Linked DNA regions of Homo sapiens: region 1 is linked to region 2. The links are contacts of gene promoters, found by promoter capture Hi-C in blood cells and fetal thymus (Javierre and others, 2016). All regions are on one chromosome and are shown on one strand. The core of a region is centred on a gene start or on the middle of the fragment in contact, and the rest is flanking DNA. Distances in the headings are between cores, read along the strand shown.

What was found. Contacts are between HindIII fragments. The CHiCAGO score rates a contact against its expected background, and 5 or more counts as called.
Region 1: the fragment with the promoter of NONO here is called in contact with the fragment with the promoter of GCNA in region 2 in 1 of 17 cell types (naive CD4 T cells); the score reaches 5.4 in naive CD4 T cells.

Annotation. Positions count from the first base shown.
Region 1 is chrX:71,279,252-71,285,252 of GRCh38, forward strand. NONO (non-POU domain containing octamer binding) reads left to right here and starts at 4,384. Exons shown (of 12, transcript NM_007363.5): 1 at 4,384-4,470; 2 at 5,146-5,202. The HindIII fragment of the contact is 27,969 bases long and covers 1-6,001 here.
Region 2 is chrX:71,575,982-71,582,078 of GRCh38, forward strand. GCNA (germ cell nuclear acidic peptidase) reads left to right here and starts at 2,456. Exons shown (of 13, transcript NM_052957.5): 1 at 2,456-2,541; 2 at 4,839-4,899. The coding sequence starts at 4,841. RefSeq lists an enhancer at 2,663-3,304. The HindIII fragment of the contact is 6,206 bases long and covers 1-5,912 here.

The DNA of each region.
Region 1 (6,001 bases), core at 3,134-5,633, 290 kb before region 2:
GGTCTCTTACCTGAATTATCATCATTGTATCCTAATTGGTGTCCCTATCTCCTAGCATATCTCCTCCAATCTATTCTACACTCTGTTCCCAGGGTTATATCCATGTCCTCTTCCCTGGAACCTATCAGTGTTAATTTATATGGCAGAAAAGAAGGACTTTGCAGATATGATTAAGTTAAAGATCTTGAGATAGAGAGATTATCCAGGTGGGCCCTAAATGCAATGACAAATGTCCTGATAACAGAGAGAGAAATTTGACACACAGAGACGAGGAGAGGGCCATGTGATGATGGAGGCAGAGACTGGAGTGAAAGGGCCACAAGCCAAGGAATGCCGGCAGCCACCAGAAGCCAGAAGAGACAAGAAACAGATTCTCCCCTAGAGCCTCTAGAAGGAATATGCCCCTACCAACACCTTGATTTCATCTCAGTGATAATGATTTCAGACTTCTGTCCTCCAGAACTGTGAGAAAATATATTTCTCTTGTTTTAAGCCACCAAATTTGTGGTAATTTGTTACAACAGCCTCAGGAAACGAACACAGTGATTTTCTAAAATTCAATCCTATCACAGATGGAAAAAATGATTTTCTCTGTCTCTGTGTCTCTGTCTCTATATATCTATCATTCCATCTATATATTTATGTATCTATATATGTATGTATGTATGTATGTATCTATCTATCTATCTATCTATGTGTGTGTATACCTGGAAGAAAAAAATACCAAAATATTAAAAATTATTTCTGGACAGTGGGATTATGATGATTTTTATTCTTCTGTGCATTTTCCAATTTTTCCCTCAAAGAGCATATATTACTTTTATAATCAGAAAAAGCAATATAAATTATTTTTTAAAACCCTTCAATGGCTCCCCATCACTGACAGATTAAAGTACAAACTTCTAAGCATAGCACAGGGCCTTAATTTTTTGGTCTTTGCCTATGTCTCTAGCCTAACTTCCTATCACTCAGCACCCCCACTTCTCTTCAGCCATGAAAAACTACCCAAAACATGTATCATTCTGCCTCTGACACTTTGCACATTGACCTTTTTGACTTCATCCTCTTGGTCAAGAACCAATTCAGATCAGGCAAGGTGGTTCATGCCTGTAATCCCAGCACTTTGGGAGGCTGAGGCAGGAGGATGGCTTGAGCTCAGGAGTTTAAGACCAGCCTGGGCAACATGGCAAAACCACGTTTCTACAAACAAACAAACAAATTAGCCGAGTGTGGTCGTGAGTGTCTGTAGTCCCAGCCACTTGGAGGCTGAGGTAGGAGGATTGCTTGAGCCCAGGAGGTCAAGGCTGCAGTGAATTGTGTTCATGCCACTGCTCTCCAGCCTGGGTGACAGCCAGATCTTGTGTCAAAATAAATAAATAAATATATAAACCAATTCAAGGGTGTTCTTTCCTGCGAAGCCATTCCTGATCTACTCAAGCAGATCCATGTTACCCTTTACTGCTACTGTACCTCCAATATGCTACTATTATTTTATTTGTGTAAGGTATTGCAATTATTGGTTTACATGAACATCTTTACACTTATTTGATTAACAACGTATAAATTCATTAAAATTTTATTGAATCCATAGTGGTTTTTTGTAATTATGGATTTTCTCACTCAGCAGATACTAAAAACTATCATGTGGCAATCTGTAAAATGTTTGATATTAAAAAGTAGTCCTGGCCAGGCACAGTGGCTCACGCTTGTAATCCTAGCACTTTAGGAGGCCGAGGTGGGCGGATCACTTGAGGTAGGAGCTTGCGACCAGCCTGGCCAACATGGTGAAACCCTGTCTGTACTAAAAATACAAAAGTTAGCCGGGCGTGGTGGCAGGTGCCTGTAGACCCAGCTACTCGGGAGGCTGAGGCAGGAGAATGGCGTGAACCCGGGAGGCGGAGCTTGCAGTGAGCTGAGATCGCGCCACTGCACTCCAGCCTGGGCGACAGAGCAAGACTCTGTCTCAAAAAAAAAAAATTGGCTGGGCATAGGCACGGTGGCAGGCACCTGTAATCCCAGCTACTCGGGAACTGAGGCAGGAGAATCGCTTGAACCTGGGAGGCAGAGGCTGCAGCGAGCCGAGATCACACCACTGCACTCCAGTCTGGGCGACAGAGCGAGACTCCGTCCCGCCGCCAAAAAAAAAGTGGTCCTCCACTGGGTGCCCTGGCTCATGCCTGTAATCCCAGCACTTTGCCAAGTGGAGGCGGGATTCCTTACACCCAGGAGTTTAAGACCAGTTTGGGCAATATGGTGAAACCCTGTCTCTACAAAACATACAAACCCACCGTGGGCGTAGTTGTGCACTCCTGTAGTCCCAGCTACTGAGGAAGCTGAGGTGGGAGAATCGCTAGAACCTGAAAGGCAGAGGTTGCAGTGAGCTGTGTTTGTGCCACTGCACTCCAGCCTGGGTGACAGAGCAAGACTGTCTCTAAGTAAATAAATATAAACAGTACATACATAGAAAATAGAAACGCAAGAAAGTGGTCATAATTGCTATCTCTAGAGAATGAATGGGGGGGAGACTTTTTTTTTGAGACGGAGTCTCACTCATTGCCCAGGCTGGAGTGCAGTGGCGCAATCTTGGCTCACTGCTAGCTCCGCCTCCTGGGTTCACACCGTTCTCCTGCCTCAGCCTCCCGAGTAGCTGGGACTACAGGCACCCGCCACCACGCCGGCTAATTTTTTTTTTGTATTTTTAGTAGAGACGGGGTTTCACCATGTTAGCTAGGATGGTCTCGATCTCCTAACCTCGTGATCCTCCCGCCTCGGCCTCCCAAAGTGCTAGGATTACAGGCGTGAGCCACCACACCCGGCCAAGACTTTTCTCTTTATACTGTTGGGTATTGTTTGATTTTTCTTTTTTTTTCTATGAGTAAGTATTAGTTTTCTTCTTCTTCTTTTTAATTGAGACGGGGTCTCACTCTGTCACGCAGGCTGGAGTGCAGTGGCGCGATCTCCACTCATTGCAGCCTCTGCTTCCCGAGCTCAAGCTATCCTCCCACCTTAACCTTAACCTCCTGAGTAGGTGGGACTACAGGGACACTCCACCACGACAGGCTAATTTTTGCTTTTTTTCGGAGATGGAGTTTCGCCATGTTACCCAGGCTGGTCTCGAACTCCTAGGCTTAAGCGATCCTCCCGTCTCGGCCTCTCAAAGTACTGGGATTATAGGCATGAGCACTGCACCTAGCCGGAATTAAAAATTCAGGTTCTCAGTTGCATTAGTCATATTTCAATGGCCACTTATAGTTAGTAGCTGCCATATTGAACACAGCAGACATAGGACCTTTCCATCATTGCACACAGTTCTATTGAACAGCCCAAGTCTAGATCATTGTGTCCCCACATAAGGTGGTGCCCATTGGGATACCCTGCAACCCTGAGTGTGAATTAATTAATGGGAATTAACAACACATACTTATCAATTGATCCTTGTAGTCCTTGGTTAACCACGGGGGCGGGGCGAGTTAGGCATTACTGAAACAATGAAGGTTAGTTACTGATAGGCCTCCTATGGAATATACAGTCTGATCTAGAGGCCTACAATATATCCATGGCAATGATGACACCTGTTGAATCTCTCAGTAAATCATAGGAACAATAGTGATGTTTGGACTGCTAGGTTTTCTGGTTACCATGGAAATGAGGGTGCTGGTTACAATTCTGTGTAATCACGCAGAGCCTAAGGTATGATGCACCCCCTCCTCCCCCACCCCGTCTGTAACCATGACCAAAGAGTTGACTATTTCAGTTGCGTTTCCCGAGTAGCCCCAGCAACAGGAGAAGCATCTAGAAATATGATTAAGTATGGGGTGTCAGGATGCAAGCCCTAACAAGGAAGTGTGAAAAAAGAAACATGGCGGGGCATTTTTTTCAGTAGGAAAAGGCCAAATCTATTCCATTGAATACAATGACATTGTTACTCTTGCTTCTTGCACAGGCGCAGTGCAGGACTGCTCCGAGCACGCCTACGCGCGCATTTTCTCCCCTTCCTCTCCCTCTTTCCACTTTCCTCTCCCTTTTTCTCCTCTCCTTTCCCCCTCCCACCACTTGGTCTTTCAGTCTTTCAGTCAGTTCGTTTAGGTCTCTCCTTCCGACCCCCACCCCCAGCTCCTCTCCCTTTCCTTTTCCCCCTCCCCCTTTCCTTTCCCGTCTCACGCGCCAGGCCGCTTGCACATGCGCATTAGGTACAAAGCCTCGCTCTTTGTCCCCATCTGTCGTTCACACGAACTCAAGCCTTTGGCATTCGGCAGCCAATAGAATCTAAGAAATGGCGGAAAAATGATTCCGCCTCGGGAGCTAAACCTTGATTGGCAGTTTAGCTAACCAATCGAGAACGCCATTTTGTACCCCTTGGCAGGCACCGAGCTCCGTCGTCTCGTTTCCGGCGGTCGCGCGCTCTTTTCTCGGGACGGGAGAGGCCGTGTAGCGTCGCCGTTACTCCGAGGAGATACCAGTCGGTAGAGGGTGAGTTTTGGGACGTCTTGGTTCTTGTTTGGGAGGGTAGTGGGATTTCTTGGAACAATCAGCGAAGGAAGAGGCTAGGGCGAAGCTAGGTTTGGAGGGTGGATGGCGCTTCCGAGGCCCCTTGAGGCCTTGTCTCTGCCGCCACACTGCCTTCTCAGCCCACCCGCGGGGGGCCACCTTTCTCAACTCGCTTCGCTTCGGGCTTTCCCCATTTTCGTTCCTGCCCTGTTTCTTTGTGCAACTCATCTCCGAATCTTACCCGTGTCAGTAAGTTGCCGGCCTCTGAGCCGCCCTGGGCCCGACGGTGTGGGGTCTATTATGAGAGATCGCTGAAGTCGTGGTTGGTTAGAGGAGGAGGCGCTTTGTCGGGCGCTCCTCCTCTCGGCCCCGCGAGGCCATTAATTCAGAATGGGCAAGTGGGGCCCCTCAAGCGATATTTCTTTGTCAAAACTCTTAGCTGGAAAGTTCCTCTGCATATCCAGAGCCCGCCGCTTTCGTAGTCAGATTTCTGTATGCCCTTTTTCTAAAGTCCTAACCGCCTAGCTCCTTGACGCATTTATATAGCATCACTTTTTAAAATGAAACTTAAATTTATGGATTTCGCATCGAGTATTTTATTTTCCAGTTTGAGAAACTCTTACCATAACCTGACACGTTTCTTTGTGTTTTTAACAGAGAAGTCGAGGTTAGAGGGAACTGGGAGGCACTTTGCTGTCTGCAATCGAAGTTGAGGTAGGTGTAAGGAAGGGATAGGGTTGCCAGACAAAACACCGGGCACCCAGTTGAATTAGAATTTCACCTACACAACCAATTATTTTTAAGTATATGTTGCATAGTTTTCAATTAAATTTCAAATTTAATTGTGGGTTGTGTATTTTATTTGCTAAATCTGGCAACTCTAGTGGGGGGGCCCTGGTTATATTTATACTGTGTCCTTGTCCACCTTCCTTGTTATTAAATGAAAAGTCCTAAGAAACTCTTAGAGAAGGACCTTAGTTCATTTTACAGCTTTCAGGCTGGCCATCCAGGCAGCCATCTCAGTCTTGTAAATTTATACCAGATTTAGATTTCAGATATGTGTGATGTAGTGTTTGGTCCTCTACCTAAACATTTGTTTAACTGTAGCATGCCCAGTGGTTAGAGTCTTTCTCAACCAGCAATACGTGTTTTCTCTCAAAATTCTTCATCAGGATTATTAGTCTCAGGGACACAAGTAGACAGTAATCTTTGCTGCTGATCTTCGTGCTGTGTTCTCTTTTCAGAGGCCCAGTATTTAGGCGACAGTGAATTTATTACTCTGAAGAGGGTTCTGCACATATTTCCAAATTATATTGGTGGTCATCAGAAGTAGGTGATAGGAAGAAATACTTCTCAAGGTACTTGCTACTTGGTGGGCACTGTTATAGGTGCTTTATTATGATAGTCTTCACTAGTGCATTCCATCCTGGGCCTCTCCGGGGCCAGGGGAAGAGAGATGTTTAACACCTGGAACCCAAGTAGGAAAAGATTTGATTCTGATGCCCACCTTGCC
Region 2 (6,097 bases), core at 1,206-3,705:
CAAACAGCATGAAAGGACCAAATTTCCCTACTGTAGCTATGATATTAGGAATTGTTTTCTCAGCCAGGTCTGGTAGAGGGTGGGGTTAGTTTATGATCCATTAAGAAGGCAAAGTGGCCTTGTGTGGTGGCTCACGCCTGTAACCCCAGCACTTTGGGAGGCGGAGGCAGGTGGATCACTTGAGGTCAGGAGTTCAAGACCAGCCTGGCTAACATGGTGAAACCCTGTCTCTACTAAAAATACAAAAAAACTAGCCGGGAGTGGTGGCACACGCTTGTAATCCCAACTACATGCGAGGCTGAGACAGGAGAATCGCTTGAACCCGGGAGGCAGAGGTTGCAGTGAGCTGAGATCGTGCCATTGCATTCCAGCCTGGACAACAGAGTGAGATGTCATCTCAAAAAAAAAAAAAGACAAAGCCTGTGATCCCCAACACACCCATTCATGCTTGCTCCTCTTTTGCTTGTGACCTCTCTGCTTTCATTTACCCTTGTAGTCTCGGTTTTCATGTGGACCATTCTTTTCTTGGCTCTTGGGGGCAAAATTATTTTCCTTCCTGCTCTGTATAGTGGTCGAACTCTGCCACAAGCATCAGGGAGGAAGATATCAATTCATGATTGATATCATGAATTGATATCATGGCAAATGCTGTTTGCCAGTTTTCTCAGATATGAGAGGGAAGATTTTTTTCAGTAAAATTTTGCATGATTTAATTCCCAACTTCTTAAAGCCCTCATGTGGATTGGTGTTTGTTTCCTAAAAGATTATTATGGGAAGAAAGCCTACTCAAAAGTTTTTACTCCCATTCGCTTCTCTTGAAAAATCTACATTATTTCCAGTCTACTTCAGCTCCTCCTGCCTTCAATCTAAAGGAGTTGCTTGCACACCTTGAGTAAATGTGTGTAATTTCTGAACTGCCCATTTTAAGATTTGATTCCAAACCTATCCCATTCTTTTACTTGAAGCATATGCCTCTCAATTATAGCTAACATCCTGGTTCTTTGCCCAAGCCTCTGAGGCACAGTTATGTAATCCCCATTCTTATAAAGAGGCTTGTAGAGGTTAATTTGCAACTTCATTGTAGAGAGAGAGAGTAATCAGCCCCCTTTATCCAATTTTTTTATCAACTGAGAAAGTATCTGTATTTAGGTAGGCAATCTGGTGCTTAAGAGCAGGTTTTGGAACTAGAGTTGGAGTTTGAATCTCAGCTCTGCCACTTTTTTTTTTTTTTTTGAGATGGAGTCTCGCCCTGTCCCCATGCTGGAGTGCAATGGCACGATCTCGGCTCACTGCAACCTCCGCCTCCCAGGTTCCAGCGATTCTCCTGCCTCAGCCTCCCGAGTAGCTGGGATTACAGGCGCGGGCCACCACACGCGGCTATTTTTTTTTTTTTATCTTTAGTAGAGACGGGGTTTCACCATGTTGACCAGGCTGGTCTCAAGCTCCTGACTTCGTGATCCACCCGCCTCAGCCTCCCAAAGTGCTGGGGTTACAGGCGTGAGCCACTGTGCCCGGCCAGCTCTGCCACTTTCTAGCTGTGTGATCTCTAAAATGAGAGTGCTAACAGTTGCCTACTTTTTAAAGTGTTGTATGAATTAAGTCGTAAGACACTTGGAATAATGCTTAGCACAAAATAGTATCAAACGCAGGGACATTTTATGTGTGTTCTGTTACCCAAAGGCATACATTACGAAATATATAGATGCTCGCTGGAGAAACTGGCACAATCTAGAAAGCGCTGTTTTCCCCGTTTGTTTTTCTTGGTGTGTATGGAGTGAGTGCCAAAAAGCCTCAAGTAACCTTTTTTTATCTCCAGGGTTTGGAGGGTTCTGGAAGTAAACATCATAGTTCGCCGTTGCCAGGCGCTGTTGAGTTGCTGCCTTGCTCTTATCTAGGGGTCTAGATGGCCTTCCCTGCAACCCCCGCCCCCCTGCGCTCCCGCGTCCCCCCGCGCCCCGCCCTCCCCTCGGTGTTCCCGTCCACGCCCCTGCTCCCGCGCCTTCGCTCCAGTTCTCGTGCCCCCGCCCCTCCCCCCGCGCCCTTTCCCAGTGGTTGCAATAACGGACTTAGAGGTCTGGACAATTCAAGTAAGGAACAAGGCTCGCTTATCCAAGTTCTCGCAGGATAAAAGTTTGTTATGAACGATTTCACATGGTTTCTCTTTATCAGAAAGTTGTTAGGGACTTTTAATCGCAGAATTGGCCTCGGGTGCCCACGCTCTAGTATTGAAATGGCGGTTTTGGGACAAATAAGCAACATCCGTGGGAGTGGAAAGCGACAGACCTGATCCCGGAAGCGTTACAGCTAGGCGCCAAGTTCACAGGCGCGAAGTTCAAATTTGTCTTGTGACCACTGTGATAGGTGGGTACAGGGGAGCGCGGGCGAGCACACGTGAATTACTGCTACCGCCCCCTAGGTCCGGGCACTATAAAGGGGCCTGCGCCTGGCGTTGTTCATCGCAGTTGCTCCGGATCTTTGCACACACTCCACGGGCAGTTGGAGGTGAGCTGCTGCCGGCCACGCCAGAGGCTGCAACACCAGGTAGGTGACCGGCTGGTCGGACTGAGATGGGTGCTGAAGTGGTCCAGAGGTTAATCCTAATTGAGTGACTTAATTAAAATCAGGACCACTGTATACCTTGGACTCTGGTTGCCCGTGTAGGCCTGAGGTGGGAGTAGAGGAAGTGGCAGCGAGGGGAGAAGTGGAGGCGCCAGTGGTAGCATTGGGGGAGGTGGGGGCGCCCATGGTGGTGTAGGAAACATATGGTGGCGCCAGTGGCGGCATTGGGAGGGGTGGGGGCGCCGGTGGCGGCGTAGGAGCAGCTGGTAGTGCCAGTGGCGGCGTGGGGAGAAGGGGCGCTGGTGGCGTCATTGCAGATAGTGGGGGGCCTGGTGGTGGCGTAGAAGGAGGTGTTGGTGCCAGTGGCGGGTGGAGAGAAGTAGGGGCACCAGTGGCGGCGTTGGGGGAAGTGGGGGTGCCTGTGGCAGTGTCGGGGAAGTGGGGGTGCTGGTGGTGGTGTAGGAGCATGTGGTAGCACCAGTGACGGTGTGGGGAGAAGTAGGGGCACCATTGGCGGCCTTGGGGGAAGTGGGAGCGCTGGTGGTGGCGTAGGAGCGTGTGGTGGCGCCAGTGGCTATGTAGGAATACGTGGCGCCGGTGGCGGCGCGGGGAGAAGTGAGGGCGCTGGTTGCGGCACTGGGGGGAGGTGGGGGCCCCAGTGGTGGTGTAGGAACAGGTGGTGTCCCTAGTGGCGGGTGGGGAGAAGTAGGGATGCCAGTGGCAGCGTGGGGGGAGGTGGGGGTGCCAGTTGCGGCCTAGGAGTACTTGGTGGCGTTGGTGGCATAGGAGCACATAGTAGCGCTGGCGGTGTGGGGAGAAGTGGAGGCGCCGGTGGCCGCATTGAAGGTGGGGGTGCCAATGGGGGCGTTGAGGGAAGTGGGGGGTTCTGGTGGCGGCGTAGGAACACTTGGTGGTGGTGGAAGTGGCCTAGGAGCACGTGGTGGTGCTGGTGGGCGTGGGGAGAAGTGAGGATGCTGGTGGTGGCATTGGAGGTGGGGGTGCCAGTGGCTGTGGGGAGAAGTGGGGGTGCCCGTTGCAGCATTGGGGGGAGGTGGGAGCTAGTGGTTGTGGGTAGGGGTGTGTGTGTGGGGGTTGAGGTCTCTTTGGCTGAGGACTGAGTGGTGGTGGGAGACAGGAGTGGGGTAGGGCAGAAGTTGGATAGAAGTGTGGGGGAGTGGAAGCCTGCTTGGAAAACCGGTTGGGAGCAGTTGAAGGTGGCTGGAGGTGGTTGGAGGTGCGAGTGTGGGGGAAGGGTGGTGGGGTTGAGGCCTGATTGGTGGAAGACTGAGGTGAGAATGGTGGGGGTAGGGTCCAGACCTGATAGGAGGAAGGAGTTGGGGAGGGGTCAAGGCCTGTTTGGTCGAAGATTGGCTAGAGGCTGGAGGCAGGAATAGGAAGCGTGGAGGGGGTGGCCGGATTCATATAAGACCAGTGAGAAGCCAGAGTGGCGGGAGGTAAGGGGGCAGTGGAGGTTGGACAGAAGGAAGAAGGTGATGAGGGGGCGGTGGTAGCCTATTCTGGGTAAGATTGACAGAGTGGGGAGTAAAGAGGTAGGGGAAGGGGGAGAGGTTGACACCCGGTAGGTGGGAGACTTCCTTGGGGCAGGAGTAGGGGGACTGAAGGTTGTAGGGAGGTGGAGGGCCAGTGGGATGTGGGGGCGGTCGAGCCCTGATACGTGGAAGACTGGCAAGTTGAGGTGGGAGTGGAGGGAGTGGGAAGTGGGGGCGGGTGCAGGGTGGGAAGAGATTGGGGTGGTAGAGGCCTGAGTGGGAAAAGTTTGCAACAAAACAAATTTAAATCCTTTTCATTTTGCAGAGCAAAGTTTCGGCTTTAAGGTGGGGAAGATACCCAAAGATAAATGCAGAATGTAAATGTAGAGATGTCTCTGCTTTTGAGTTCTGGCTTTCTTTTTTTTTTCTTTTTATTTTATTTTCTTTTTCTTTTTCTTTTTTGAGATGGAGTCTAGCTCTGTGGCCCAGGCTGGAGTGCAGTGGCACAATCTCGGCTCACTGCAAGCTCTGCCTCCCGGGTTCACGCCATTTTCCTGCCTCAGCCTCTCGAGTAGCTGGGACTACAGGCGCCCGCCACCACGCCTGGCTAATTTTTTGTATTTTTAATAGAGATAGGGTTTCACCGTGTTAGCCAGGATGGTCTCGATCTCATGACATTGTGATCTGCCCGCCTCGGCCTCCCAAAGTGCTGGGATTATAGGCGTGAGCCACTGCGCCCGGCCGAGTTCTGGCTTTCTTAAGAAAGTGTATCTTTGTCTTTCACTACAGACATGGATGGGTGCAAAAAAGAGCTGCCCCGCTTGCAAGAGCCGGAGGAGGACGAGGATTGGTGAGATTTAGAAAGTTCTGTTTTCTTTTAGTTTAGTGTTACCGTATTGGCAAAACAGCTTTCTCGAGAAGTATGTTTATTTCCTTTAGTATCTGTAGAGCGTATAACTTGGTTTGTTATAAAATGAGAATTGTAAAGAAGGATTTTACAAACTAGGAGTCCAGCCTCCTATGAAATTCTTGAATCCGCTATATAATTTCTTTGTTAGTGGCCAGGAAATGACGACATTTGAGGCAACAGTGCATCGTTGAATATATGTGGTTTCTAGAAAGTTCTTCATTCTGATGCAATTAAAACCTGTTGTTCCACGCCAGTATCGATAGTGCTGCCTCTAGAGGTACACAAGTATTTTTCTTCTCCATGATAACACAAGGTGTTTTTGTTTTAAATTTTTTTATGGAGATGCGCCCTGAACCAATAAAGGTTCAGAGAACTTCCAACATGAGGTATTTTTTTTGTGCGTGTGAGAGACAGGGTCTGCTCTGTCGCCCGGGTTGGAGTGCAGTGATGTGATCAGGAGCTATTTTTAAGATAGCTGCCTGTCTCTAAGTTTTTTCTCTTCTGGAACACTACCCTATTTTCCTCCCTCACAGATATGCATGCAAGGGTATGATATGGGGGAAGGTACAAACCAACAGAAAGTCTGGAAATAGACCTAAGTACATAAGAAAATTTACTAAACAAGAAAAACGACATTTCAGCATTTCAAATCAATGGGGAAAAATATGGATTAGTCAACAAACCATTTGAGGATAACTGGCTAACCATTTGGAAAAAAATGAGACTTGGGTTTTTGCCTTATTGCTTATGCCAAAATAGATTACACATGGATCAAATATTTTAAAATAAAAAATGAAACCATTAAAATGTTAGAAAACAATAGATGGATTTTGTTTCCAATAGTTTTTGGAGTAGAAAGGTCTAAGTTTGATATCAAACAAAACATAAATATGGTAAATAAACTGGAAAAATATTTGTGTTACAAATATAAAGGGCTATTTTCCTTAACAAAAAGCTTTTTATAAATCAGTAATTTAGAAAAAGGTGAACAAACGCATGGAACATGACAAAGAATATTAGAAGGTAGCTCTCTGGGAAAAAAAAAAATACAAACGGACCTCAGACATTAAAATTTTCAGCTTTGGCCGGGCACACTTTGGGAGGCAGAGGTGGGCGGATCGCTTGAGTCCTGAGACCA